Regions from separate parts of the Homo sapiens genome. Here regions 1, 3 and 4 are each linked to region 2. Evidence: promoter capture Hi-C in human tissues and cell types (Jung and others, 2019). All regions are on one chromosome and are shown on one strand. Each heading gives the region's core, a stretch centred on a gene start or on the middle of the fragment in contact. The rest is flanking DNA. Distances are from core to core; before and after follow the strand shown. Region 1 overlaps CCNDBP1 (cyclin D1 binding protein 1). Region 2 holds the start of LCMT2 (leucine carboxyl methyltransferase 2). Region 3 overlaps MAP1A (microtubule associated protein 1A). Region 4 overlaps TP53BP1 (tumor protein p53 binding protein 1).

Evidence for each region. The method cuts DNA at HindIII sites, captures the fragments that hold promoters and counts their contacts. A contact is called where the count stands out against the background at its distance.
Region 1: a contact is called between a fragment that was not itself captured here and the fragment with the promoter of LCMT2 in region 2, in 1 of the 25 tissues and cell types used here (lymphoblastoid cells).
Region 3: a contact is called between a fragment that was not itself captured here and the fragment with the promoter of LCMT2 in region 2, in 1 of the 25 tissues and cell types used here (mesenchymal stem cells).
Region 4: a contact is called between a fragment that was not itself captured here and the fragment with the promoter of LCMT2 in region 2, in 1 of the 25 tissues and cell types used here (spleen).

What each region holds. Positions count from the first base shown.
Region 1 is chr15:43,193,198-43,199,217 of GRCh38, reverse strand. CCNDBP1 (cyclin D1 binding protein 1) reads right to left here. Exons shown (of 11, transcript NM_012142.5): 10 at 4,757-4,803; 11 at 2,041-4,491. The coding sequence ends at 4,377. It overlaps EPB42 (erythrocyte membrane protein band 4.2), which reads left to right. Exons shown (of 13, transcript NM_001114134.2): 13 at 1,754-1,991. The coding sequence ends at 1,916. Among named protein-coding and RNA genes, the nearest start is that of CCNDBP1, 11 kb to the right of the region's middle. The HindIII fragment of the contact is 7,230 bases long and covers 1-5,224 here.
Region 2 is chr15:43,327,510-43,332,757 of GRCh38, reverse strand. LCMT2 (leucine carboxyl methyltransferase 2) reads left to right here and starts at 2,185. Exons shown (of 1, transcript NM_014793.5): 1 at 2,185-5,248. The coding sequence starts at 2,269. The coding sequence ends at 4,329. It overlaps MAPDA (N6-Methyl-AMP deaminase), which reads right to left and starts at 2,086. Exons shown (of 13, transcript NM_001324366.2): 1 at 1,899-2,086; 2 at 758-858. RefSeq lists enhancers at 2,045-2,094, 1,327-2,277. The HindIII fragment of the contact is 18,030 bases long and covers 1-5,248 here.
Region 3 is chr15:43,525,871-43,531,245 of GRCh38, reverse strand. It overlaps MAP1A (microtubule associated protein 1A), which reads right to left. Exons shown (of 6, transcript NM_002373.6): 4 at 1,738-5,375; 5 at 1,376-1,596; 6 at 1-1,177. The coding sequence ends at 1,022. Among named protein-coding and RNA genes, the nearest start is that of MAP1A, 11 kb to the right of the region's middle. RefSeq lists enhancers at 917-1,417, 1,418-1,918, 2,900-3,532. The HindIII fragment of the contact is 5,634 bases long and covers 771-5,375 here.
Region 4 is chr15:43,478,463-43,484,550 of GRCh38, reverse strand. TP53BP1 (tumor protein p53 binding protein 1) reads left to right here. Exons shown (of 28, transcript NM_001141980.3): 5 at 3,529-3,656; 6 at 4,534-4,692; 7 at 5,025-5,154. Among named protein-coding and RNA genes, the nearest start is that of TP53BP1, 12 kb to the left of the region's middle. The HindIII fragment of the contact is 7,884 bases long and covers 298-6,088 here.

The DNA.
Region 1 (6,020 bases), core at 360-2,859, 130 kb after region 2:
GGCAGACAGTGCAAGTTGTCAGTGGATCTACCATTCTGGGGTGTGGAGGATGGCGGCCCTCTTCTCACAGCTCCACTAGGCAGTGCCCCAGCAGGGACTCTGTGTGGGGGCTCTGACCCCATATTTGCCTTCTGCACTGCCCTAGCAGAGGTTCTCCATGAGGGTCCTGCCCTTGCAGCAAACTTTTGCCTGGGCCCCCAGAATTTCCATAGATATTCTGAAATCTAGGCAGAGGTTCCCAAACCTCAGTTCTTGACTTCTGTGCACCCATAGGCTCAACACCATTTGGAAGCTGCCAAGGCTTGCGGCTTCCACCCTCTGAAGCCACAGCCCAAGCGGTATGTTGGCCCCTTTCAGCCATGGCTGGAGTGGCTGGGACACAGGGCACCAAGTCCTTAGGCTGCATACAACACAGGAACCCTGGGCCTGGCCCACTAAACCACTTTTTCCTCCTGAGCCTCCGGGCCTGTGATGGGAGGGGCTGCCATGAAGTTCTCTGACATGGCCTGGAGACATTTCCCCCTTGATCTTCAGGTTTAACATTAGGCTCCTTGTTACTTATGCAAATTTCTGCAGCCAGCTTGAATTTTTCCCTAGAAAATGGGTTTTTCTTTTCTATTGCATAGTCAGGCTGCAAATTTTCCAAACTTTTACGCTCTGCTTCCTTTATAAAACTGAATGCCTTTGACAGCACCCAAGTCACCTCTTGAATGCTTTGCTACTTAGAAATTTCTTCCACCAGATACCCTAAATCATCTTTCTCAAGTTCAAAGTTCCACAAATCTCTAGGGCAGGGTCAAAATGCCACCAGTCTCTTTGCTAAAACATAAGAGTCACCTTTGCTCCAGTTCCTAACAAGTTCCTCATCTCTATCTGAGACCACCTCAGCCTGGATTTTATTGTCCATATTGCTATCAGCATTTTCGGCAAAGCTATGCGACAAGTCTCTAGGAAGTTCCAAGCTTTCCCACATTTTCATCTTCTTCTGAGCACTTCAAGCTGCTCCAATCTCTGCCTGTTACCCAGTTCCAAAGTCACTTCCACATTTTCGGGTATCTTTTCAGCCATGCCCCACTCTACTCATACCAATTTACTGTATTGTTTGTTTTCACGCTGCTGATAAAGACATACCTGAGACTGGGAAGAAAAAGAGGTTTAATTGGACTTACAGTTCCACATGGCTGGGGAGGCCTCAGAATCATGGCAGGAGGCAAAGGCACTTCTAACAGGGTGGTGGCAAGAGAAAATGAGGAAGAAGCAAAAGCAGAAACCTCTGATAAGCCCATCAGGTCTCCTGAGACTTATTCACTATCACGAGAATAGCACAGGAAAGACCAGCCCCCATGATTCAATTACCTCCCCCTGGGTCCCTTCCACAACTCATGGGAATTCTGGGAGATAGAATTCAAGTTGAGATTTGGGTGGGGACACAGCCAAACCATATCACTCTTCCAAACAAACTCCAATACAATTACCAGGAATTGAACCAGAAGGAAGTCACAGATGACAAAAGGAACAACAGATGTAGCTTGGAAGCCCTTAGGATGTACCTCTTCTCAACCATGCAGTTGCTCAGCATTGGGTGGCTCCTGTCTTCTATTCCTTTATAAACACTTCCATTTTAATAGCAAGGTACTTAGATGTTTATTTCTGCATGGTCCACCTCTTCAAGCAAGGAAGGATCAAAGTCACTGGGACCAGCAGAGCAATGAACCTGGGACAGAACTAGCACCTGCCTTTTCCTTTATTTCAGATTCCGTTCAGTGTGGCCTGAAAACACCATGTGTGCCAAGTTCCAGTTCACGCCAACACATGTGGGGCTCCAGAGACTCACTGTGGAAGTGGACTGCAACATGTTCCAGAACCTAACCAACTATAAAAGCGTCACCGTGGTAGCCCCTGAACTATCAGCTTAAACTTCCAGCTCTATCACCACTCTCCTGCCAACCCTTGTTCTACAATCTAAACCAAACATGTGCTAGGAAGAGAAACTTTGCGTCTCAGTGTTTGTGTTGCTATAAAGGAATAACTGAGGCTGGGTAGTTTAAAAGAAAAGAGCTTTATTTGGCTCACGGCTCTGCAGGCTGTACAAGAAACAGTGAGGGCTTCAGGCTGCTTCCACTTATGCAGGAAGATGAAGGGAGGCAACGTGAGCAGAGATCACAGGGCAAGAATGGGTTGAGGGGTAGGGGTAAGTGCCAGGTGCCAGCCTCGTTTTAACAGCCAGCTCTGGGGTGGGGGAGGGACATATAGAGCGAGAACTTACTCATTACCCCACCAATGGAACGAAGCCATTCATGAGGGATCCAAACACCTCCCATTAGGCCCCACCTCCAACACTGGGAATCCAATTTCAGCATGAGGTTTGCAGGGTTGAATATCCAAACTACATCACTTTATCAGATAAATGAGTAGTCATTCAGGTTGAAAAGGTGCTCAGATACCTTTAAGGAGTACATTCAGATTGTTCAGGTTCAGGTTTTTTGCAACCATTTTACTGCTCATTAATACATTCATTAACTTACAGATAAGGGAAAGGACCTAACACTTAAATCATTCTAATATTTCTGATGAAGTGGGATATTATCCCAAAATGGAATTTTTAGGTAATCTTAAAATTACATTGATCAAGCTGGGCTCGGTGGCTCACATCTGTAATCCCAGCACTTTGGGAGGCTGACGTGGGCAGATCACCTGAGGTCAGGAGTTTGAGACCAGCCTGGCCAACATGGTGAAACCCCATCTCTACTAAAAATACAAAAATTAGCTGGACATGGTGGTGTGCATCTGTAGTCCCAGCTACTTGAGAGGCTGAAGCCAGAGAATTGCTTGAGAACCTGGGAGGCGGAGGTTGCAGTGAGCCGAGAGTGTGCCACTGCACTCCAGCTTGGGGGACAGAGCAAGACTCCATCTCAAAAAAAAAAAAAAAAAAAAAAAAATTACATTGATCAGTGCTTTCCCTGATCATTATCCTTAAAGATCCAAACATGACTGAACGAAGTTATACAATACAGGACCTGAGAGAATAATTCAGCTAGAGGTAAGTCTTTATATTAGAGTTCTATATTCATTAAGTATCCCACAATTAAAGTCTGATGTTAATAACATGAATTTGGTCCAGTAGAGAAATATAAAAGTATATAAAAAATAGGCTCTATATGAAAGGATAAAAGAACTAGACTGTTGTACAATGTTATTATTTTGTTTATGTTATTTTGTTGCCTTGACACTCTGTCAGTTTGATTTTAGTTCCTTCCCTTCATGACACTTGTTAACAATACAAAATGGCACTTCAAAACAGTAAGCTAAAACTCATTTGGCTTAAGGAATTTCAACCCCAACCCCAAGTATACATTAGTCACTCAAAGAATGACTGCTGTTGCTGATTATACCTAAAGACAGCAGAAAGGCATATGTTATGAATTACACCTACAAAAGGAAGATGATGGGCATGAGAGGTGGCGGAGACCTGTAGGACATGCATAATGCCCTATTCAGCTCACCAGAATATACATCATTATAGATTTACACTGCTTTCCAATATGCAGTCTTCTAGACTGATGCAAAAGTATAATTAAGTGGTGATGGTTTTGCAAAAGGATGAACTGAAAAGGCCCTTAAAATTACATAAAATCTCTTACACACTAAAAAATTTTTGATTTATAAAAATTTGGTATTTACATTTGGGGACACACGTAACCAAGGACAACACAAGTATGTATAAGGAAAATAAATCTGTTCAATAAGGTGGGCAAACCTAACAAATGAGCTCAATGCCAATATATTTTAGAGACATGGAGTAATCTGTGATAATATTCAGAAGGACTTGCTGATAATAATATATAACATGGTGAAATACTAAGATGAATTTTGGAGTCATCTTTTATAAATAAAGTGTTTTGTTCTAAATATACTTCTGATTAGAATCAGATTTTTAAACCTACAAACCCAAATGAAAGCAATGTTCTAGTCTCAATCCACTGTATTTCTGGTAAAAAGAAACTTTGGAAGGGCACTCATTTAATCACTGGCAAGTTAGCATTTTATTGAGACCATCAACATCTTTACAATGAAAACAACATACTTTACTGCAAAAAGAGAATAAGGCAGCTTTCCTAGGAATCTCTGAGAAATGACTCAGGAATGAGAAATCATGCAATTATTTTTCATATATAGCACAGAAAAATATACGCATATGGTTTATAAATAGGTGTCAATCTGGCCTAACCAACAATCTTTGGTAATAGTGTCTCTTGCTAAATATAGATAGGCACTCCCTTTCAATCCAGCAAGCATTCTAGCTCCATTTTAAAAGCAGGTATCAGAGCCTGACCATGACGATGAGAGGGGAAGAGAGTACAAATGAGCCTGAAAAGTCATAATTCAAGTTCACTCTGAGTGAGCTCCTTGATTCTATTCATGCAATGATCAATGGCATTAATAAGTAAAGGGATCCAACTATCTTCTGGCTGAGGGGTCACATGACTTGCTCTGTGAATAGAATAGGAAAGAAGTAAGTTAAACTTATTAGGATGTCAAGGGAAAACCTATCCTCAGGAGGGAGCACAGGGAAAACTAAAATTTTTTTAAAGGGAAGCTTCTTTGCAGAATCTCAGCTGCCCCACAACTGAAGCTGAAAGAAAATCCCACACCCACCCTTTCCCACTCCTTGAAATGGGAGCTAGGGAGTTGAGAACGTCTGGACAGCAGTTCCGTTTTACTCACAAAAAGCTATCTGAGAAGTCTTCATACTTACTTTGTAATTTCAAGTGCCTTCTTTAAAACAGATACAAGTTTCGCAGACTAGAAAAGAAACACAGAAGTTATTCACCCTGAGCCCTACCATAAAAAGGTGAGTTCAAATATTTTTAAAGACCCAAGTAATAAAAAAATTATTTAGAAAAAGGACCTGAAGGAAGTATGCAAAATTTAAAATGCTGATTAGGTTAGGGTGGCAGGATTACGGGTTCTTTTCTATTTAGCAAGATCTTATTAATACTATTGCTATAACATTTTAATAAGATTTTTTAGATCTAAAATATTTTCAATTTAAAAAAGGACAGAAAAAGGAAAATGTAACCTGAATTGGTCCCAAATGCTGATAGCTCAAAATATAAAGCAGAAATGACTAAGGTTCCTTTAAAAAAAAAAAAAAAAAAAAAAAAAAAAAAGCGCATTAAGAATTTTAAGAACACCAATATAAGGATAAGATGGAGACGTTTAATATAAAATATCAATACATATAAGATGCATATGCAGTACACATTTTAAAATTGCTAGAGCAGATACTATGTTTGGGATAGCTGACTAGGCATATTGCTAAAAATGTTTATTTCTTAGGAAGTCAATTTTTTAAAAGTTAATGCCAAAAAAATGTTAATGCCCAAAAGGATCCTATTCTACTTCAAGGTGTTTATACATCATGAAGACACATCTGATGAATCTAATTTCCATTATCCAATTTATCAAATATTACTAGAATTGATACATTCAATTGTAAAATATAAGCCATTTGGCAGTTTTACTGCTCTTTCCAATAACATTAGAGAGAACAGAACTCTCTCTAGTAAAGGGCACAGAACCTCAAAGAATACAATAAAATCAGATTTTTATAAGAAAGTTGACTCTCCATAGTTAAATCACACAATGTGTTTGTATTAGAACAGAGTATGTTTCTGGAACACTTATTTCTGCCTTGTCTAGAAATCAGAAACATGTGACCTCAGCCAGCTACTTCATGAACAGCTGAAGTTCAATCTAATTGCTGCCTAGTCTAGAAATTAGAAACTTGTGACTTCAAGTTGAGAAGTTCCTAAATTACCGTGTAATTAAGACTTTCTTTTCAAAGAAGCTTTTTTTTTTTTTTTTTTTTTTTTTTTTTTTTTGAGACAGAGTCTTGCTCTGTTGCTCAGGCTGGAGTGCAGTGGCGCGATGTCGGCTCACTGCAACCTCCACTTCCCGGCTTCAAGCGATTCTCCTGCTTAAGCCTTCCAAGTAGCTGGGATTATAGGTGCATGATG
Region 2 (5,248 bases), core at 936-3,435:
AGGGAACTCAGAATAAAAAAAAATTTGTTACTGTTTATTATGCACTTACCATGAGCCAGGCACTGTGGTGTCTTAGATAGTTATTTTGTTTAAATCCTCACAACAACCCCTGAGATATTATTATCCCCATTTTATATAAGAATAAACTGAGATTTAAACAATGGCCCCTCCTCCCCCGGCCTAAATCATAAGGCATCGAAATCAGAAATTTTACTCCATTCTCTTTCTTCTTTAATTACTTTTCTTGATCTGGTCTTTGCAAAACAAGTAGTATTTTTGACATAACACCTACATTTTAGGAACCTGTCATTAAATAAATTTGTTTCTATGGTGCTACGTATTTTTCAAAGTCCTTCAACTTTTTTTTTTTTTCTATTTGCCCCTCAATCAACCCTGAGATACCTCACGAAGCAGTACTTAATCTCATTTTAGAGGTGAGGATCCACTGACCCAGCAGGCATAGGTGAGCCCTTCTTCTAATCCCTTCAGAAGCAATTCTCAAACTGCTCAAATGTTCCATCAGATCTGAATGCCTTACACTAAACTGACAACTCTGTCACCAACTTTACAGAGAAAACAGAAGCCATCAGGTGCAAATTCCTTCTTTTTCTCTCTGCCCTACCTCACACCTGAGCTTATGATTATCCATAATCTTTTTTTTACCCCATCAGGAGTCACAGATAAAGGATTCATTCTCCTATCCCCACAACTAATACGTGCCCAGGATCCCATTTCTATCTATTCCAAGTTACTCTACCAGTGAGTTGTCTTCTCATTTTTCTGTTCCTTCAACCTCTCCCTCTCCACTAGCTGGTTTCCCTCACAGGACCAACACGCATGTGCAGTATTTGCTTCCACCTGAAAACAAAACAAAAGACTCTTTTATCCCACAATATTCTTTAGCCACTGCCCTGACCCTTTTTTCCTTCTGAGTTAAGCTCCTCGAAAGTATAATAATTTAGACTGGATACCTCCTTTAACTCACCTCCTATTCACTGAAACATGGATTCTGCCCTTATTGCTCCACAGAAACTGCTCTCCCTAAGGCCATTAATGAGCTTTTAAACACCAAATCTAAATGTCACTTTTCAATTACCGAATCTTTATCCTGATCCAAACCTTTTCTTTCTTATTTCATTTTGTTCCACAAGAAAACATTGGAAAATACGAAACTTTTTCTTGACTCCAGTATCCAAATCTGCTGGACTCCAAAACTCACACTCTTAACCATTATGCAGTACCACCTGTAGTTAACCATAAAGTTATCTGATTTCCTTTTCTATTTCAGCCAGTCAGTCACCAAATCCCAGTGAACAAATGATAAATTTCCTAAATGTCTCTGGAAGTGGTTTCCTATGGATGACTCCCAGACACCCAATTTAGAAACTTTATGATTATTCTGAAGTCTAACCTGGATTTACTCCTTAAAAACAAAGCTCAGAACATATCACAGGGAACAATCACCTCTCTTCAGTGACTCCCCTTTCTGGGGACATATTCAACACTACTTTAAAATCCACAGAATTCTCCAAGGCGGTGTGATGAGAAAGAGAGGCTGAGTGGTTTATTCACCGTCAGTCTAACATAGGGCTGGGAATACAAGGGAATCAACAGTCTACTATCTGTGGGGAAACGTCTTCTTGTTAGGTGTCTATAAATTATTTGTAAAGGTCGGTTTCTTCAGTTTGCACCCTGGCCTTAGTGACTTGTTTTCAAGTTTTAAATGGGGTTCTCTTTTGCAACTGTGAGAGCATTAAATAAATCAGCAACTATTAGCACCCAAGGAAGCTAACTAATCCTTGCCTACTGAAGGTCCGTGGTGCCGACCCTTCTTGGCTCCTACCAGACCCTTCCTTGGCGGTCCAAGGAAGCCAAGTCGTCAGTCCCCACAGACTCACCTCTTAGAGATTTCTCAACTACAAGGACTTAGGCAAGGTTTCCCTTTTGACTGGAAGGCTTGTAGAAACGTGACAACCCGCCTTCCCTAACACTCATGTCACAGCGGTAGCGGACCGTATTCTGGGACAAATGGAACTCACGACATTCCAAAGAAAGGTCAGCCGCAAGCGAACTTAGCACTGGCTACACCCTCCTCAATTCTGGTTGGCGAGATGCGCTCTTCCCGGAAGTGACGCACAAGTGCCGGCGGAAGGGGAAGTCCAGGAGCATGGGTGGTTTTTTTCCCCCTACCGAGGTCCGTGAGGTGTGTGCTAACCAAGGGGCGGCTCACAACCGTGACAGACTGCCATTCCTGAGTCTCTTCTGGCCATGGGCCCCCGGAGCCGTGAGCGTCGGGCAGGCGCGGTACAGAACACCAACGACAGCAGCGCCCTCAGCAAGCGTTCCCTGGCCGCGCGCGGGTACGTGCAGGACCCCTTTGCCGCGTTGCTGGTTCCGGGCGCGGCGCGCCGCGCACCGCTCATTCACCGAGGCTACTACGTCCGCGCACGCGCCGTGAGGCACTGCGTGCGCGCTTTTTTGGAGCAGATTGGCGCGCCCCAGGCCGCGCTTCGCGCGCAGATCTTGTCTCTCGGCGCTGGCTTCGACTCGCTCTATTTTCGCTTAAAAACCGCGGGCCGCCTGGCCCGGGCTGCAGTCTGGGAGGTGGATTTTCCGGACGTGGCGCGGCGCAAAGCAGAAAGGATTGGAGAGACGCCAGAGCTGTGCGCGTTAACCGGGCCTTTCGAGAGGGGGGAGCCCGCGTCCGCGCTGTGCTTTGAGAGCGCAGACTACTGCATCCTGGGTCTGGACTTGCGGCAGCTCCAGCGAGTGGAGGAGGCCCTGGGCGCCGCGGGGCTCGACGCAGCCTCACCCACTCTGCTCCTGGCCGAGGCGGTGCTGACCTACCTCGAGCCGGAGAGTGCCGCGGCCCTCATCGCCTGGGCAGCCCAGCGTTTTCCTAATGCCCTTTTCGTGGTCTATGAGCAGATGAGGCCTCAAGACGCCTTTGGCCAGTTCATGCTGCAACATTTTCGGCAGCTAAACTCCCCCCTGCATGGCCTGGAGCGTTTTCCTGACGTGGAGGCGCAGCGGCGCCGCTTCCTTCAAGCTGGCTGGACCGCCTGCGGTGCCGTGGACATGAATGAATTCTATCACTGCTTTCTTCCCGCAGAAGAACGCCGGCGGGTGGAAAATATTGAACCCTTTGACGAATTTGAGGAGTGGCATCTGAAGTGCGCCCATTATTTCATTCTGGCAGCTTCTAGGGGAGACACCCTCTCCCACACCCTAGTGTTTCCATCCTCAGAGGCATTTCCTCGCGTAAATCCTGCTTCGCCTTCAGGGGTATTCCCTGCCAGCGTAGTCAGTAGCGAGGGCCAGGTCCCAAACCTGAAGAGATATGGCCACGCCTCTGTCTTCTTGAGCCCAGACGTTATTCTCAGTGCAGGAGGATTTGGAGAGCAGGAGGGGCGGCACTGCCGAGTGAGCCAGTTTCACTTGCTCTCAAGAGATTGTGACTCTGAATGGAAAGGCAGCCAAATAGGCAGTTGTGGGACTGGAGTTCAGTGGGATGGACGCCTTTATCACACCATGACAAGACTCTCAGAGAGTCGGGTTCTGGTTCTGGGAGGGAGACTGTCCCCAGTAAGTCCAGCCTTGGGGGTTCTCCAGCTTCATTTTTTTAAGAGTGAGGATAATAACACTGAGGACCTGAAAGTGACAATAACAAAGGCTGGCCGAAAGGATGATTCCACTTTGTGTTGTTGGCGGCATTCAACAACAGAAGTGTCCTGTCAGAATCAGGAATATTTGTTTGTGTATGGGGGTCGAAGCGTGGTGGAACCTGTACTAAGTGACTGGCATTTCCTCCATGTAGGGACAATGGCTTGGGTCAGGATCCCAGTGGAGGGAGAAGTACCTGAAGCCCGGCATTCTCACAGTGCCTGCACTTGGCAAGGGGGAGCCCTTATTGCTGGAGGTCTCGGGGCTTCTGAGGAGCCATTGAACTCTGTGCTCTTTCTGAGACCAATCTCTTGTGGATTCCTCTGGGAGTCAGTAGACATCCAGCCTCCCATTACCCCAAGGTACTCCCACACAGCTCATGTGCTCAATGGAAAGCTGTTACTGGTTGGAGGGATCTGGATTCATTCCTCCTCATTTCCTGGAGTGACTGTGATCAATTTGACTACAGGATTGAGCTCTGAGTATCAGATTGACACAACATATGTGCCATGGCCATTAATGTTACACAACCATACTAGTATCCTTCTTCCTGAAGAGCAACAGCTCCTGCTCCTTGGAGGTGGTGGGAACTGCTTTTCCTTTGGTACCTACTTCAACCCCCATACAGTCACATTAGACCTTTCTTCCTTAAGTGCTGGGCAGTAAGGACTGGACTAATATTCAGGACCCACTAAAGTAGACAATAAAGTTTTCCACAAATAGGATGACCCTCTAGCTATAGATACTGCCACTCCTCCTTTCCCCATCCTTTTTTTCCCTTAGCACTATTCAGTGCAAAAAGTGAAAAAGGTTGGTAAAATAGGTAAAATACCTAGAAACAATCACTACAGAAAACAGCTGAAGACAGTGGCCATGCAGTCCGAGAGGAGTAGTGGTCTGCCTCTAATTTTCTAATCTAAGTTCGTTTATTGAGTTACAGTGGTCTTTAGTAAAGTAAAACAATTTCCCAATCCCAGGCCTTGTGATTTGAGATGGTACCTTAGAAAAAGTTACACGCAGTTCCGTGGTTGAATATATTTGAGATGGTACCTTAGAAAAAGTTTCACGCAGATCCTTGGTTGAATATAGTTGAGGGAGCGTAGTATTGACAATTCTTCATGTAGGAAACCTGAAATGAACACAGTCACAGTTTGATTAAAACATTGTCCTGTTTGTTGCAACAGAAAACTCGGATAGTTTTAACAACAGGAAACACTTGTAGGACTTCCTTTACCAACATACTTTTTAAATGTTTTGCTATTGGTTCCATATTTATTTAGATTTATAAGTGTCAATAAAGCAAACTTTTGATGCCTCAATTCATTTTGCACGGGGTATAATAATGTTTTGTTCCAGATATACTCTCCACCTTTCACTGTTCTGTGCTCCAAGAGGCTGACCTTTATGGGCTGCATCAAGGAGCTCTCTTTACTTTTTGGTTGAGTTCCACCAGTCAGAGGCACCAGAGGGGAATGGGGGCAAAAAGAAGAGTGAGAGTGAGTTGGTATTTATTCCCAATTCTTCCCCTGTTGGTTTGCAAGTTGGCAGTGGCAGCATTCTTCTGTCAAAGGCTACAGCTCCTGCC
Region 3 (5,375 bases), core at 2,338-4,837, 200 kb before region 2:
GCCTGGCTTCCACCTCCCAGATCCTCTGTCCAAGAGCGGGTTTGGAGAGGCAGCCAGTGTTCCCATTTCAGCTGCAGGATGGCATAGTGGAATGTTGGGGGAGTCACACATTGCTGGGGTGTCAAATGTTGGGATGTCAGGCAGTGGCTTATTTTTAACCCATTAAACACCAAGCCACAGCAGATGACCACATGCAGAGAAGCCAAGCAGGGGATGAGAAGGGATCAGGATAATTGAAATGGGGTGAGTAAAAACTTCAAAGAGTCAGGGAGTTTGGAAGAATTCTGGCATTGGGGCTTGGGCTCTCCTTGCCGTTTTGTGCTGTCTGGACACAGCCCTGGGATGTGAATGGTATAAAGCAGGGTCTGGGGGATAAGCTCCTTTCTCCTCTCACCAGTCTATTGGTCTAAAGAGCTTCAAGTTTTAAATTGAGACATTCAGATACTGAGGGAAGCAGTAGAACAGTATAGCAGTGGGATACCCCCAGGACCCTGCTAGAACTCAGACCCTGGTGGTTGAGGAGATGGGGGATGGGAAATGGAGGAAAGGGTGCAGCTCTGGGCACCTCACTGACGGTATCCTGCCCCAGGTCACATAAATTACTATTGGAAATCCCTCCCAGGATGCCAAATAAATAGATTGAGATAAAGAGGTCCCTGGAGTTGGGGATATAATCTCCCTCTACGAGGGAGGAGGTTGCTCTCTGAGACCCATCCTCAGTCCCCATTCAATACCAGCATTTGACAGTGCTAGGAGAGGGTTCTCAGGCATCAGATGCTATCCTATTCTAATTTGTCCCCTCCCCCATCCTCTCCCTGTTAACTTTGGTTTGAGACACCTCACAGGAATGGATGATGGGGAGGGACAACCCCTCCCATTTAGCCCAGCCCAAGTCCCCACAACAAGACATCTCCCTCCCCTCCCCCTAGCTCCCATCTCCCTCAACCCCAAAGGACTCAGCAGTAGCCATTCTCTAAAGGAGCTGGGGGAGTGGATCCTTGGGGAAGGGAGGGCGGCTCTTTCAGAACTCAATCTTGCAGGCAGGGAAGGACTCATCCTGCATCACCACGGTGCTGCTGCTAGCCAGGACCAGGACATTCAGTTGTTGCTGCTGCTCATGAGTTTGTTGGTACCACTCACGAGTCACCTCCGTGTCATGAGTAGGGATCAGAGTCACCTAGAAGGGAGATAAGATATGTCTGATGTGAGAACATAAAGGGAAGGTAGGTGAGGGGGAAGGGGCACCTCATGGTCTCAGAAGCAGCTCTGCTGCCCTTAGAAAAGGCCCATCCTTTAATAAATAGGGACTGTGTTCCACTACTGCCTCTGAGTGAGCGTTGACCAGACTACTTCCTTGGTGTCCTTTGCTACTCACCTGAAGATTCTCCCCCCACTGGGCCTTGCCCTCCAGCAGGGCATCCAGCACAGCCCGGCTTGGCTCGCCATTGGCAGGGTCATTCCCACTGACCACATAGTAGGATGCACGCACTCGACGGAAGAAGTCAAGGTCAGCAGTCTTGCCACTGCAATGATTCGGGATGTAGGCGAGATCCACATATACAGGGGCACCAGAGCTGCCCTTGGAACTCAAGGCCACTGTAGAGACAAGCCAGGATTCATTGTAGAGGAAAAGTAGAACCCTTTTGGCAACCTTCCCCTCTGTCCCACTCCTGAAGTCTGACCAGCCCACACCCAGCCCTAACCCACACTCTCTGCCAAGTTTCATGATATACTTACTTGGTCCTGCCTTGAGTCCATTGACTAGGCCTTTGGACATGGGGCTGTGTCCATCCTTTTCCTCTGCTGGGGTGACCTGGCTTGTGGTGCTGCGTGGTCGAGGTGGGGCCCGGGATGCTCGATCTGCAGGCCCTTTACCAGGGGTGGGTGAGCGTTTTCCCCGAAGATCCAGACGCCGTGCAGGGGACGCTGGCTTGGCCTTGCCTGGGGCCCTGCGCCCTACTCGCCCCTGAACCTTTTCCTTCTCCCGTAGCCTCTCTACTCTCCCAGACTCTGAGCTGAGCCCCTCGGGGTCAGCCATGCACACATCAGGGCGGGGAGGGGATGGGCGGGGGTCTGGCTGTGGGAGAGGAGGTGGGTCATGGCCAGGCCTGGGGTGGTGAGTACCACTGACACCCCCAGCTTTGTCCACAGGTAGGAAGTCTCCATCTTCATCTGAGTCGAGGGCTGCCTCAGCTGTGATGGACGGACACTCCTCAGTTTCTGGCGGGACATCAGAATCTGACTGTGAGGAGCCTGAGTCACTGGCTGATGTAGGGGGTGTCTCATCAGTCACAGGGCATGGGCCCCCAGTGGTCCCTGGCCCCCCTACCCGGCGCCGCCCCCCTCTTCCTACTAGCCGAACTTCCTCAGTTGAGAGGTCCCTATCATCTATGGATGGGGGCAGAGGTGGGTTCAGGAAGGATGGGGAGAGCTCCCCACGATGGGGCCGAGGCTCAGTGGCACATCCCTGGGGCCCAGCTTCGACCTCAGGAGAGGCACTGCTGGGTGGGCCCCCGGAGCCCCCTGCAGGACACACTGGCTGCTCAGGGGAGAGCAATGTGTCAGGCCGGGAGCTCCTCTCAGCTCCTTCAGGCCAGGCCCCACGTTCCCAGGCAGGGCAAGCCGCAGCCTCTTCATTTTCAGCCTTGGCTGGGGCAGGGCCTGGGGGGTTAGGGCTGGTTTCAGTTGGGCCATTGGCTGCACAATCCTCAGAGGGAACCTGGAAGGGGCTTGGCTTCTCCGTGGCTGCCTCTGAGCACTCCAGGTGGCACGGCAGGATGCCATCACCCATGTCTCCAGGCAGGCTTGGAGCTGGAGCTAGGGCCAAGTCCAGTGAAGCTGGGGGTGCTGGGCTCAGAGGAGTGAGGTCCCAGAGGCTGTGGGCAGCTGGTTCCATTCCTGGGTCCAGCTCTCCAGACTCCTGTTCTGCAGCCTCAAGGCTTGGAGAGAAGCGCTCCGCCACACTTGAAATCACAGGCGTGGTAGCCTCAGAGGAGGAGCCCTCAGACAGGGCTGGTGAGGCAGGTCGTGGCAGATTGGAGAGGAGAGGGGCCCCAGGAGAACTGGGTGATGGGAGCTGGGGCAGTGAGGAATCCAGGCTGGGGGCCTTGGTCACTTCCAGGTATTCATCATGCCGGGTTCTGGTGGGGGGTCCTGGAGCCAGAGCCAGAGCTCGATCCCCAGAGAAGGCAAGGGAGCCACAGGGTGCCGAGCGGGGTTCAGCTGGAGAGGGCAGCTGTGGGGGAGCTGGCTGCAATGAGGAGAAGCCAAAGGCTGAAGCAGGGAAGTCCAGACTGGGTCGGGCAGGCCCCAGGTGTGAGTCCAAGGGAGGGCTAACATGTGCCTCAGTTTCTGGCCATAATGTGGGGGACCCCATAGGAATGGGGTGAGGAGGACTTGGGGATTGGGCCTCTTTTTCTGGCTGTTCCCGAGCCCCCTTCTCCAGTTCTGAGTCACTAGTGCTGTCATCCCAGTGACTCCGGCCTGATTCCTTGGGGGATGGGGACCTCCTATCTGGGCTGCAGCTCAGGATGTTACCATTAAGAGGGGGGCTTGGGCCTTTGCTCAGGATAGGAGCACGGGGGGGAACTGCAGGTGGGGTGAGGCTGGGCTCCATACTTGGCCCTGGCTCTGGCCTTGGGGGTACAGTGGGTCCTGCCAGGGCTGCATAGCTGAAGGTTGGAGTGTCAGACTGGAGGCTCTTGGGTGAGATAGGAGATGAAAGCTCCTTCTCTGCAGATGTGTTTCGGCCGGCAGCTGCCTCCTTGGTTGAGAGGCATGGGGGCCAATCCCCAGCTGCTCCAAGTGGAGGCTCTCTAGTGGGGCATGCAGGGCCAAGCCCAGTAAGCATCATCTGCTCATAGATGTCTGCATACTGAAAGCTTCTCTCATCAGGATAGGGTGTGGGCTCTCTCTGCTCCGGCTCAGTCTGCTCAGGCTCCGTGGTGGCATGGCTTTTGCTGGCCTCTGGTACCTTTGAGCTGTGTGAGCTTTTGTCAGGAGCCTCAGCCCTACCTTCTTCTTCCCTTTCCCCTTCAGCCTTGCGGTAGTCCTTCCCCAGGGGGGAGTATGGCCCACCTTCCAACTCAGCTGCCCCCTCCTGCACTGCAGCCACCACACTGTCATACTCGGCTGTGCCCCAAGAGAAGGGTGCAGGAGTATGGGATTCCGGGGCAGGTGTGGGGGGACCAGGAGCTGGGGAGAGGGGTGCAGGGGGGAGGGGTCTGTCCTTGGGCACCCAGGGTGGGATGTCAGCCAGCCATGAGGGAGTAGTGGGTTCATTCTTCATGTGTGGCATGAGCTTAGGGTCTGGGATAGGACTCTCTTGTCCTGGGGCTGAAGGAACCCTTTGTCCAACCATCTCAGGTGGGGAAGCTGGAGGGGAGATGATCTCAAAGGGAGAGCGGGTCAGTTTGTCCTCTTCCTCTGGTGGCAACCCAACTGGTGATTCAGCAAGCCAGCGCTCCACCTCTAGCCCCTTCTGTGGTGAGGATTCCTGGAAATCCTTGAAGTCTGAGGCCCAGGGGCTCCGGGTTGCGTGTTCCCGCAGGGGTACTTCTTGCTCATCATCTGGGCCCTCATCTAGGAAAGTGCTTTCCCGTTCCTCAGTGTAGTGTGGGCGGGCCCCCTGGCCATCCAGCTCGTGAGGGAACCAGACCTTCCGCTCACAGCTTAGCTCCCTCCAGTATGTGTCCTGTTCCAAGGCCACATCCTCTCTGCCCCTCCAATACCTATTGTCCTGCTCAGGAGATGTGTCCTCCCATGCCGGGGCAAGCTCTTTCTGTTCTCCAGCCGGCTCCTCTCTGGTAGGAGATGTTTCTTGCCACTCCTGGACCACATCCTGCCCCCTCCAGTACTTTTCTTCCTGCTCTCTGGCCCTGCCCTCCTGCACTAGGCTCTCTTCCAGGCCCAGAGCTTTGGTCTTCTCCAGAAGAGCTTCTAACTTCTCTTCCATGGCCTTGACCTTTTCTGGGGATTTTTCCTCTAGCATCTTTGGTTTCCTGGTTTTATCCTCCTGCACTAGGCTCTCCTGCTCCTGAGTTTGGTGGTTCTCTTCCAGAGCCTGAATGTTTTGTTCCAGGGCTTCATCCTTCTGTCCCAAAGCCCAGTATTTTTGTTCTAAGGCCTGATCCTTCTTTTCTGAGACTTTATCCTTTTGTTCCTGGGCCTGGTGTTTCTGTTCAGGGGCTTTGTCTGTCTGTTCTAGGTCTCTGTCCTTCATTTCAGCGACCGTGTCCTCCGGAGCCTTATGTTCAACACTTCTGACTTTTTGATCTAAGGCTTTGTCTTTCTCTTCTGGGATCTTCTCCTTCTGTTCTAGGACCCTGTCCTTTTGTTCCAAGTCTTTATCTTTTGGTTCCAGGGCCTTGTCCTTC
Region 4 (6,088 bases), core at 2,990-5,489, 150 kb before region 2:
TTGTGAGGAATTTGGCTCTTATTTTTAGTGAGATAGGAAGACATTTAAGGGTTTTGAGCAGGGGAAGGACATGATCTGATTTAGATTTTTAACAGAGTCACTCTGGCTGCTTGATTAAGAATAGACTGAAAGCAGGACAAGGCTAGAGGCAGGAAGACCAACAAGGAAACTATTGACATAATTTAGCAAAAGGTGATAGTGGCTGGACCAGGATTGAAGCAGATGAAGAATGGTGAGATTCTGAGTATTTGAAAAGGGGATTCAAAGACAGATCAGATGTGGAGTGTGAGAGACAAGAAGGAAGTAATAATTATTCCAGGTTTGTTTTGCTTCAAGTAGCTGGGACTACAGATGTATGCCACCGTGCCTGGCAGATTCCAAGTTTTTGATTTGAGCAACTAGAGTAATGGAATGACAGTTAAGATAGAGAAGACTGCAGGAGGGGAAGTTCAGTTTTAAACATATGAAACATTGTGCTATCTTTTCAACAACCAGCTGGATGTGTTGAGGAGGTAATTGGACAAGGAGGCCTGGAGCTCAGAGGGAAAAGTCTAGGCCAGAGATTTAAATTGCAGACTCATAAGCAGATAGGTAGTATTCTAAACCATGAGTCTGGATGAGGTCATTAAGTGGGTGAATGTAGCTAGAAAAGAGGTCCAAGGACTCACGGAGCCTACCAGCATTTAGAGATCAGGGACATGAGGTAAAAACACCAAAAGAAACTAAGAAGAGCTCAAAGTGTGTTGTTTTGTGCTGTCGTCCTTCATTGCTTCTTTTCTACCATTTGCAATATTTGCTCTTGAACTTTCTTTCCCTCTGTTTCCCAAAGTCATTTATCTGGTCCTTCCAGTTATATAGATAATGTTCTATTTTGCTTTTGTAAAAATCTTTACTTAGTCTTCTTTCACTTGCTTGGGTCACGGTTCCCAACTTTGCAAATTTATATTTTCACCTCTTTTGTGTTTATTACAGTTACGCTTAATGCTCTTTTTATGAAATATTAGTTGTGTAGAAAGTTGCAAGGAAGCAAAGATGTCATCTGTAATCCTGCCACCCAGAGGCTAATTGCTGTAAACATTTTGGCATCTTTTCTCTCTTTTTTTGTTCATTTGATTTATATGGTTGACATCATGTGGAAAGTAAAAGTGTATGTTTGCTGATGTTTTGCTTAAAAACATGAAAATTTTTCTCATGACAATTAAAACTTAACATATTCCCCAAGTTTTTTATTTTAAAAGTTTAAGCCCACAGAAGAAATGAAAGAGTATACATTTGTTCTGTGTGTGTGTGTGTGTGTGTGTGTGTGTGTGTGTGTGTTCTGTACTTTTTTGGGGAGGATTAATTGTTTAAGTTGCAGACATCAGATTTTTCCTTAATATAATGTCCCCTTAAATACTTCAGCATTCATCCCCTAAGAATAAGTACATTATTCTATATAATCATAGTACCGTTATCACACTTAAAGTAATAATTCCATAATATTTAAGTATACAGTTCAGATTTTCCCAGTTGTCTCAAAGATGTCTTTTGTCTTGTTTTATTGATTGGTTGGTTGATAGCATCTAAGATCCAATTCAGGTTCACATTTTGTATTTGATTGTTTCACACTTTTCTTTTTTTGGAGACAGACTCTTTTTCTGTTGCCCAGGCTGGAGTGCAGTGGGGCAGTCTCGGCTTACTGCAACCTCCACCTCCTGGGTTCAAGCGATTCTCCTGCTTCAGCCTCCCAAGTAGCTGGGACTACAGGCACATGACACCACACTGGTTAAATTTTTTTTTTTTTGAGACGGAGTCTCGCCATGTCTCCCAGGCTGGAGTGCAGTAGCGTGATCTTGGCTCACTGCAACCTCCGATTCCCAGGTTCAAGCAATTCTCCTGCCTCAGCCTCCCCAGTAGCTGGGACTACAGGTGCGTGCCACCACGCCCGGCTAATTTTTTGTATTTTTAGTAGAGACAGGGTTTCACCTTGTTCGCCGGGATGGTCTCGATCTCCTGACCTTGTGATCCGCCTGTTTCGGCCTCCCAAAGTGCTGGGATTACAGGCATGAGCCACCGCGCCCAGCCTAATTTTTGTATTTTTAGTAGAGACGGGGTTGCACCATGTTGGCCGTGCTGGTTTTGAACTAACCTTAAATGATCCGCCCACTTCGGCCTCCCGAAGTGCTGGGATTACAGGGATAAGCCCCTGCGCCTGGCCTTGTTTCAAACATTTTTAACGGTGATATATGTTATTAATAGATTGTGAAATTATGTAATCATTTCCTTAATGCTGAATTTATAGGTTGTTTCTTGTTGTTGTTGTTGTTGTTGTTGTTGTTTTTTGAGGTGGAGTCTCGCTCTGTCGCCCAGGCTGGAGTGCAGTGGCGCGATCTCGGCTCACTGCAAGCTCTGCCTCCCGGGTTCACGCCATTCTACTGCCTCAGCCTCCTGAGTAGCTGGGACTACAGGCACCTGCCACCACGCCCAGCTAATTTTTTTGTATTTTTTAGTAGAGATGGGGTTTCACCATGTTAGCCAGGATGGTCTCGATCTCCTGATCTCGTGATGCGCCCTCCTTGGCCTCCCAAAGTGCTGGGATTACAGGCGTGAGCCACCGTGCCTGGTCGGTGTTAACTTATTTTAAAAATATATGGAGTTTGCTTGTGCCCAGTAGTTCAAGGCTGCAGTAAGCTGTGATCGTGCTACTGCACTTTAGCCTGGGAGACAGACTCTGTCTCTCTCTTTTTTTTTTTTTTTTGAGACAGAGTCTCGCTCTGTCACCAGGCTGCAGTGCAGTGGCGCGATCTCGGCTCACTGCAACCTCCGCCTCCTGGGTTCGAGCAATTTTCCTGCCTCAGCCTCCTGAGTAGATGGGACTACAGGCGCATGCCACCACACCCAGCTAATTTTTATATTTTTAGTAGAGACGGGGTTTCACCATGTTAGCCAGGATGGTCTCGATCTCTTGACCTCGTGACCTGCCTGCCTCTGCCTCCCAAAGTGCTGGGATTACAGGTGTGAGCCACTGTGCCCGGCCCAGACTCTGTCTCTTAAAAAAAAAATAAGTAAAAAATAAAAAGTGTGTGTGTGTGTGTGTGTGTGTGTGTGTGTATTTATATACATATATAAGCTCCTTACCTGAATTTTGTTTGGACTCTGTGGTTCTATATATGTATTTTAAGATTTTTTACTAAAATACTTCTGTGAACTTTTAAAAAGTTTTTTGAGCCCTTTCTGTGCTCATCCAATGCATATCTTCTCTTGTCACTTGTCAGTAATTCTCCTGAATGCAAGATTTTTCTGCCTCTTCTCAAAAATATAAAATTCGAGTATGTTGGTGCCTTATTTTTTCTTTACTTAATTCTGTGTAGGATGTTGAATTGTTAATCTTTTAGGTGCTTTTTGTAGAAAGAAGCACTATAAAGGTGAGGTATTTTACTTTTTCAAGTTTGGCTAAGAGATGGTTGGTATGTGTTGGGGGTCAGAGTGCTCTGATTAAAGTGTCCCAAACTATCTGGGAACACATGATTATATCCTTCTGCTGTGTAGTGTTCTGGGAATGTCAGTGGAATCTGCTCCTGCTGTGGAGGAAGAGAAGGGAGAAGAGTTGGAACAGAAGGAGAAAGAGAAGGAAGAAGATACTTCAGGCAATACTACACATTCCCTTGGTGCTGAAGGTAGCCTTGTGCTTTTTTCAGAATAATAGACTGTTCTAACTTCCCTTTAACATGATTGTGCAGATGTCTAAATTTCTCCTCTTTATTAGGTTGCAGATTTCTCATAATTAAATTGAGAGTCATTAAGAAATTTGCTAGTAATTTAAAATGTTCCACCTGATTTGGTATTCAGGAATTTGTAGTTCATTGGTTAGCCCCTTTCTGCATATTGAGTTTTCTTCCTCTTGTATTCATTTGTTTTTCAAATATTTTTGTAATGTGTACTTTGTGGGGTGTAAGTACAGTCTGAATTGCTGTGACTGTGGGTGTAGTTTATGATGTACCTTTAGAAAGCAGACGTAGTCTCCTTATAAGATTTTATAGTATGAAGTATTTTTACTTTATTACACATTTTCCCCCTTCATCTTTAATGCACTTATTTTTTTTAAATTTATTTTTTATTTTTTTGCGACGGAGTCTTGCTCTGTTGCCCAGGTTAGAGTGCAGTGGCGCAATCTTGGCTCACTGCAAGCTCCGCCTCCTGGGTTCAAGCCATTCTTGTGCTTCAGCCTCCCGAGTAGCCAGGATTACATGTGTGCGCCACCACACCTGGCTAATTTTTGTATTTTTAGTAGAGATGGGGTTTCACCATGTTGGCCAGGCTGGTCTTGACCGCCTGACCTCAAGTGATTCACCTACCTTGGCCTCCCAAATGCCGGGATTATAGGTGTGAGCCACCGTGCTCGGCCACATTTATTTTTTATTTTTGAAAAATTTGGGGGGTGCACAGGGCTTTGATGTGAAGGACTTAACGGGACCCTCCTTTGCTGAGGACAGCAGCTTGTACATTGCATAATGTTGTGGGATGATACCTAATTTCTTGGCATTTTGTTCCTAGATACTGCCTCATCACAGTTGGGTTTTGGGGTTCTGGAACTCTCCCAGAGCCAGGATGTTGAGGAAAATACTGTGCCATATGAAGTGGACAAAGAGCAGCTACAATCAGTAACCACCAACTCTGGTTATACCAGGCTGTCTGATGTGGATGCTAATACTGGTATGAAACATGTTTTCTGGCATTTGGAGTTGTTGTGTTTTCTCCCATATTAGAGGTAGTTATTTTTTCTTTGATAAGTTTTGCAGCTATCCAAATTAATATAATCTAAGTAATTTAGTAAGGTTGAAGAGTTTTCTGGTAAATACTTGTCAATTGTTGGTTTGTGGGCTGAGGTTTTAAGTTATTGGTTACTTTCCTTTATAGACTGATGCCTGTATATATTTTAAATTGGACTTCTGTTAAAATCTTTGCTTTTTAAAAAACATCTGGGACTGTATCTAGTATTTTGAAAACTTAATTATCTCCTTCCTGTCATTTTATAAAACTCTCAGCAATTAAGCATGAAGAACAGTCCAACGAAGATATCCCCATAGCAGAACAGTCCAGCAAGGACATCCCTGTGACAGCACAGCCCAGTAAGGATGTACATGTTGTAAAAGAGCAAAATCCACCACCTGCAAGGTAAGCCGAACTTTCTAAAAAGGATTTACGAGTTTTGCTGTAGGGTTATACTAATGTCATTTTACCAGATGAAAACATTTTTAGAAATTGTTGATTTTTAAATTATTTTCCCCTTGTACTGGGCATACTTGTGGTCCATTGGAAACGTTGATTATTTATGAAGTCTCAAGAATTGTTTTTTGTCTGTCTGTCTGTCTGTCTGTTTGAAACAAAGTCTCACTATGTTGCCCTGGGCTCATGTGATTCTCTGCCCCAGCCTCCCAAGTACTGGGGCCACACTTGACTACTAATCTTATCTTTAGGCATTCTACAAAGACCTTTTTTTGTTGATTAAAAAAATTTTTTTGTTGTAGAAATGGAGTCTCGCTATGTTGCTCAAGCTGGTCTCGAACTCCTGGGCTCAAGTAATCCTCCTGCCTCAGCTTCCCAAAGTGCTGGGATTATAGGCGTGAGCCACTCTGCCTAGCCTGCAATGATGTTTTAAGGCTGCTCTAACTATAAGCATGACTCCGTAATCTTTGGTTGCCACTCCTCCTTTGTGATCTTTGTCTACAGAGACACTGCTTGTCTGTGGGAGGTCTTCTTAGCCTCTCTGGTGTTATGAAGAGTAACATGACTATTTTATTTGAAAGCCTACTGTTTCTATACTTGAGGAGCACCCAGATTGCTTTGGGTTCTTAGGTATCCTGCATCTGGTATTTTATGGTATCGATAGATGTAGGGATTTTCTCAGGTTCTTTAGGCTCTTAACTTGGTAGGAATTGGGGAATGTGCCTCTGCTTCATCTCTCGTGATTTTTATAACCAAAGCTTCATTACCTCTGGCCAGTAAGTGAAGTTTGAATATGGCAGAAGAAAACTGGGATGCTTCCAGTTTGGGATAGGGGATAAATAAACAGTATTGTTTTGTTATTTCCTTCAATGGAAAGAGTGGG